Regions from separate parts of the Homo sapiens genome. Here region 1 is linked to region 2. Evidence: promoter capture Hi-C in 16 types of primary human blood cells and fetal thymus (Javierre and others, 2016). All regions are on one chromosome and are shown on one strand. Each heading gives the region's core, a stretch centred on a gene start or on the middle of the fragment in contact. The rest is flanking DNA. Distances are from core to core; before and after follow the strand shown.

Region 1 (3,041 bases), core at 443-2,942, 200 kb before region 2:
GACAGCATTTCACCATGTTGCCCAGGCTGGTCTCAAACTCTTGAGCTCAAGCGACCCACCCGCCTTGGCCTCCCAAGGTGCTTGGATTACAGGTGTGAGCCATGGCGCCTGGCCATAAAGGGGAATTTTAAAAGGGAAGAGAAGCGAAAGTGGGTGGCCTATGAAGCTGCTGATGGGTCAAGCAAAAACTGTCAGGGAGTTTGGTTGCACACTTCACTGATTGGCAGGTGGGCATCCTTTTCAGGTGGCCCATTCGTCACAGGTGAAGAGAGGATTGCCAGCACCCTGCCTGTACATGTTCAGGGTTGCCTCTGTGCTGTCTTTCTTGGATGCTTTTGGTCAAATGACAGAGAGAATGGCATGCACTGTCTTCATGTTTAATTTTATATGCAGAGTTGTCTTAAAGTTGTAGCTGCTAGTTGGGCACAGTGGCTCTCTCCTATAATTTCAGCAGTTTGGGAGGCAGAGGAGAGAGGATCACTTGAGGCCAGGAGTTCAAGACTAGCCTGGGCAATAAAGTCACACTCTTGTCTCTACAAAAAAAAAAAAAAAATTAATTAGCTTGGCCTGGTGGCATGCGTCTGTAGTCCCAGCTGCTTGGGAGGCTGAGGCAGGAGGATCTCTTGAGCCCAGAAGGTCAAGGCTGCAGCAAGCTATGATTACATCACTGAATTCCAGCCTGGGCAACAGAGCGAAACCCTATCTGTCTGTGGGGGGATAAAAAACAAGTTGTAGCTGCACATGTAGGAAAGAAAAGGTTAGCTTTGGAAAGCTCTCTTGAAAAACTGAAGAAGATCAGGTTTATTTCCTGTCATTGAACCAAGTGAACCAAGCACATTAAGTCATGGGGCAGGGCCTCTGCACAGTGGGCTCTTCTCAGATAACTCAAGGTCTCGTGGGGCCATTTCCACTTCAGTGTAGCATCATCATACTTCCTAGGGGTGCAGAGAGATCAAGAACTCCCACTTAGAATACTTGCAGATCTTTCTTCTGTGATCCACCTTTGCTGTCAGCTGCATTGAGAAAGGACATCCAAACTGGTGCAGTGGGGCCCCTAAGGACAGTCCTAACACAAGCTCTCTGTCACTGTCTCAGGTGAAGAGTTGGCCCATGTTTTGCTCTTGCTGCAAGGCATGTGCTGTTGCCACCATTTCCATCTGTTTGGTGACTTTCGTATGGGATATGTTACTCCCTTCTTCCTACTCCGGCATGGGGAGGGAGCAAGGAGGAGTACTTATTGCTGGGAGTAATCTAATTTCAGAAGCACCCATGACCTGTGGACTCCTTCTGAAAAGGGGATGCATGAATAATTGTACTTTTAAAACTTTGTTTTGTTTTGAGACAGGGTCTTGTTCTTTTGCCCAGGCTGGAGTGCAGTGGCATCATCATGGCTCACTGCAACCTCCACCTCCCACCTCAGCCTCCCAAAATGCTGGGATTACAGATGTGGGCCACCATGTTCAGCCCGTTTTCATATTTTTAGAGGAACTATTTTAAGGGAAAAATTTTAAAAACAAATGACCTATGATTCATTACCATGATAATACTTGACCTTCGTTCTTCTTACTTTTTACGGTAATTAACTTTAACTCCAGACACAATTTCTCAGGAATGGTTATTGAACACCAGGTGAAGAGACAGGTTTCTTCCAGTCCTGTTTTTCCAAACTCCTTTCCTATTTAGCACGCATTGTGGTGCCTTAGGAGGGACATTTGTGGGCAGTTAGGGTTGAATCTGTTCTCTGGTCCACTAGGGGGCGCGCCTATCAAAGGCATGTGTGTGAGAAACTCTGCAGGCTGATGGCACTTCAATAAAGAGCAGCTCTGATGTGTTCATGAAGTGGAGGACTTAGTGGGGACTCTTCTAAGTGGGTAAGTTTAGCAGGTTCAGAAAAATGCTTTTCCAGCCAGAATCTTCCTCCTTCCCCCTTTTAGCTCAAAATCTCCAATAACTCTGTCCCCTGGCTGTGGCGGAAGGAGAGGCAACATATTAAACAGTGTCAATCCTTCGTCCCTGAGTGTATTGTGCAAACTTCCTTGGCATCCTTTCTTTGCACATGGCGCTTTGGAGCAAAAGGGCACCATCCAGCAGGTGCAAGGGTGACACATAGGGAACCAAGGGCAAAGAAACGTCAGGGTCTCGTAATGTATAAGCAAGTCAATTGTGTTTGAGGCTAATAAAACATAGCTTTTACGAGTGCAGCCTTTGGTGCCAGACTGCCTGGTTTTGCATCCCAGCTTCATTGCTCATTAGCTGTGTGATCTTGAACAATTTACCTAAGTGTTTCTTGCCTCATTAGTGAGTTGGATATAGTCGTATCTCCCACCCAGGCTTGTTATGGACATTAATGAGTTAATTGATGTTAAGTTCTGAGAAGCCTTGGCATGGAGCCAGTTTTAGTAAGTTTTTACAATTGATGATTGTCATTTGGATCTGATGGTGGAAATGAGTCTGCAGAATGCATTTACAGTAACCCAGATGACTGGGGACATTCTTCATTTGACTATAACCAGCTGGGTCTGAGAGTAGAAATACATGGCTTCAAAAACAGTTAATTGTCAGGAGTGGCATATCCCAAAGTCCATGAATTCTAGAGAATTTCGTAAGAGTGCTTAGCAGTGCAGGACTTTTATACCCCTCAAAGAGCCTCTTTAGTGAAGGAAGCGGTGGATTTTTTGCTCTGTATTTTTGCTACTCAGGAATTAGCATGTAGGCACATGGCCGAGGATGTCCTTATGCTGCCTGCTCTTGTGCAGATTTTCAAAAGCAGATAAGACTCAAAACCACAACATATATTAAATCAATATTACTGTCCATGACAGGAAGCATTTTTCAATTGGATGACTCCATCCACGATACCCTTTGGAGAGTGCCTTGGACCTAGGCTGGACAGTGCTAGGACAGAGGACCACCAGAGTCTGGCAGGGCTGAGTGGTGATGGGGTCCTGGTACCTGGGAAAGGTAGTTATAGGCATCCAGCACCTCTTCCTCTGATGATTTTCTGTAGGTGCTTGTACTCGTGATTTTGCCTCTAGTAGGAT
Region 2 (2,993 bases), core at 247-2,746:
AATCAATGAAAAGCATTTGGGGCCATTCCCATGAGGGAAATGACACGAAGATCACACAGCACACATGGCGCTCCAGATGAGGCATGGAGAGGCATGGATTCTAGTCCAGCTCTGCCTGTGACCTCCTGCGTGACCCGGGGCTTTTCTCCTATCCTGCACTCACCACCCTCCCTCCTAGACAATGCTGTGGCCCCGGGGATGGCCTCCTTCTGTGCTTTGAATTTCATCCCCTCTCACCTGCTCTGGGGCTCTGTCCGTTATCATTTCTAATCTTTGCATCATTAGTCTCTTCCTCTCACATGCTGTCTTCTCACCAGAATATAAACACACACAAATCTCCCACATTCTTAATAATAAATAAATGATTTTCTCAACCCCCTATTCACCTGTGCCCCTGCAGCTCGGTTTCTGAAGTCATTGCCTCAGTTTCCCAGCTCGCCTTTTCATGTATTAATCCACTGCAGCCTGCCTTCTGCCCACACCGAGAATATAACTGAGCAAAAGAAGAGAAATAGGACTCTAAAAAGCACTAAAATATAGTGTCAGTCCTTGAAAACCTCTTTAGCCACAAAAGTCACTGATTTTGACAAAGAATGGCCTCCGGTGGACAGTTTTAAATCTCAATCTTGTTTGCCACCTTTGTAGCCCTTGACCCTGTGAACCACTCTCTCCTTAAAAATTTTTTTTACTGTGACTTTGGAAATGAACATACATGCAAGATAGATATAGATATACAGATATAGATACAGACATATATATATTTATATATGTATACAATGCACCTAAGATATATGTACAAATGGCACATTGAATATACGTGGAAGAAATAAAATAACTATTATTGTTCCAGTTACTAGCAACATTTTTAGAAAAAAAATTAAAGGATAACTAAAAATATAACTGAGCTCAAGAGAAGAAATACGACTCCAAAGTGCATTAATATATATTTTGAATACTTGAAAACCTCTGTAGCCACAAAAGACATGATTTCTAAGAGGCAAGTGGGAATTGAGAGGAGTCGTTGAGTTGTTCTAAATTTAAGACTGGAAAGAAGTCACATTGTTCTGAATCCCTGCTCTGATGAAGAAGAGAGACATCAAAAAATTTATAAAAATACATCTTTTATCCCTTACACCTTCATGCTATTCGCATCCTCCCCCACCCCCATCTCTTCTCTTCAGCCTAAAAATATACCAAAATCATTCCTTTCCTTAAACAATATTTTCCAACCCTGTTCCTCTTTCAAGTTCTTATCCAATCTCTGTCCGTCTCTGCACTGCCAAATTTTCCGGGAGAGAATGACATCTCCACTTTCCCACCTCCTCACCTCGACGTGGTCTGATGTTCACCCACACCCACCTGCTGCAATTGCTTCATTTAGCTCAAGGTCATCTTCTGATTGTTCTTGTTCATCCTGTTCCCTGGCTCTGAGGCATTGACTTGTGTTGCCTCCTGTGCTTCCTGGGATCCTCTCCATTCCTCATTCCCATGGCACTGACCCCTTTAGCACAGGCATTCCCTGAGGCCCTCCTCTTTTCCTCTCCTACCACTGCCTCCTCCCCACCTTCAACCAGCACCTGAGGCAGACAGAATTCCACCCTCATCGTCTTCTGAGCTCCACCCCTGTGGATGGTCTGCAGACTCCTCAAACTCGGGATGTCCAAAGCTAAACTCTCCATTCTCATGGCTCCGTTCCTGCTGCTGCTTCTGTGGGCTCTAACTCCAGGAGTGACACCACAATCACCCCATATCTTGGACTTGAAATCCAGGAGAGATCTCTGGCTTCCCTACCTTTTCTCTCTAGTAGGTCCCCAAGTCCTACTGATTCACCACTCTATGAGAAGGGCCACCTGCCTTTTAATGCTGTGACTCCACTTTCCTGCACCATTATCTCAGCCCCAGTCTCTGTGCAGGAACACATGCCAGCATGAAAAATCAATTGGCTTTTGTCAGGCCATAAATACCACCAAAAGAAAATCTAAAGGTGTTGTTAAGACAGAAAAAAACAAAATCATTTTCCTTCTCTCCTGGAAATAGCTTAAATTTTTTTTCTGGTCTTAAAAGAAATCATTCCTCTCAAGAATCACTTTCTCCTGTCATAGCTTAGCCACCCTGTGCCTTTCACTTATGGACTCAGTTTGTTCTGTATCCTGCCTTCCCGCCACCATCATCTCTTGTGTAGACGATGTGTTTGTTTTTTAATTGGTCTTCCTAAATCTGGACTTGACCCAAGCCTAAGTTCTCTCTCCCCTAGCTGCCAGAAACACCTTTCTAGGACACAGCTCTTCTCATGAGACATCTGTCTTCAAAAACCTCTGGCTCTCTCTTCTTCCAGCAGGATAGAAAAACTCCACATTCTGTCCTAAACCACTCTTCCAAACAACATGTCTATTACGTCTAGCAGCACACCTCCTACTAACCTATCGTTAGTCATACTGAGTGCCCAGCATGCCTTGCACTTCCCAGTATCTGTCCCTGATTGTGTTCCCTCAGCAAGGAGGAACCTTCACTCTTTCCGGTGAAAAATCTGCCTGTCCTTCAAGGCCCAACTCATGGGCCCTGCAAAGTCCCTCCATGGGGACAGGAGGAATTTTCCCTCTTATGTTCACTTTTCTTCCCCTCTCTTGTAGCACTTAACTTACTCAGCTATATGCTAAGTTCGGAAACTTATTTTAGCCAATTATCTTTGATTTAAATGGGTTCCCATTCATTCTCTGTCCCACCTCATGGCTACCTTGAGGCAATGCTGCAGAATTCCAAAGGCTTGAAAATCATATCTACTCTCTCTGTTTCTTGACTCTACCCCTAAGAACCAGGACTGATTCTCACTCACCTTTCTACCCCAGAGTGCCTACCAAAAAGAAAGAAATATATATGAGCTTAACAAATGTTACTTAAATTGAATTTTTATCCTATTGTTGAAAAAAATAGCTAATAATGTTTATTTTTAAATCAGCTGATAAGGTCTTAAAAGGAAAAAGCACACTCTAGGA

Evidence for each region. The method cuts DNA at HindIII sites, captures the fragments that hold promoters and counts their contacts. A CHiCAGO score of 5 or more calls a contact.
Region 1: a contact is called between a fragment that was not itself captured here and the fragment with the promoter of ELMO1-AS1 in region 2, in 1 of 17 cell types (M1 macrophages). The highest score is 6.2, in M1 macrophages.

The regions. Positions count from the first base shown.
Region 1 is chr7:37,197,757-37,200,797 of GRCh38, reverse strand. All of the region lies in intron 13 of ELMO1 (engulfment and cell motility 1), which reads left to right. Among named protein-coding and RNA genes, the nearest start is that of ELMO1-AS1, 200 kb to the right of the region's middle. RefSeq lists an enhancer at 1,720-1,779. The HindIII fragment of the contact is 4,970 bases long and covers 1-3,041 here.
Region 2 is chr7:36,996,299-36,999,291 of GRCh38, reverse strand. It overlaps ELMO1-AS1 (ELMO1 antisense RNA 1), which reads right to left and starts at 1,496. Exons shown (of 3, transcript NR_104120.1): 1 at 1,360-1,496. The region is part of intron 16 of ELMO1 (engulfment and cell motility 1); the gene reads left to right. The HindIII fragment of the contact is 6,356 bases long and covers 1-2,993 here.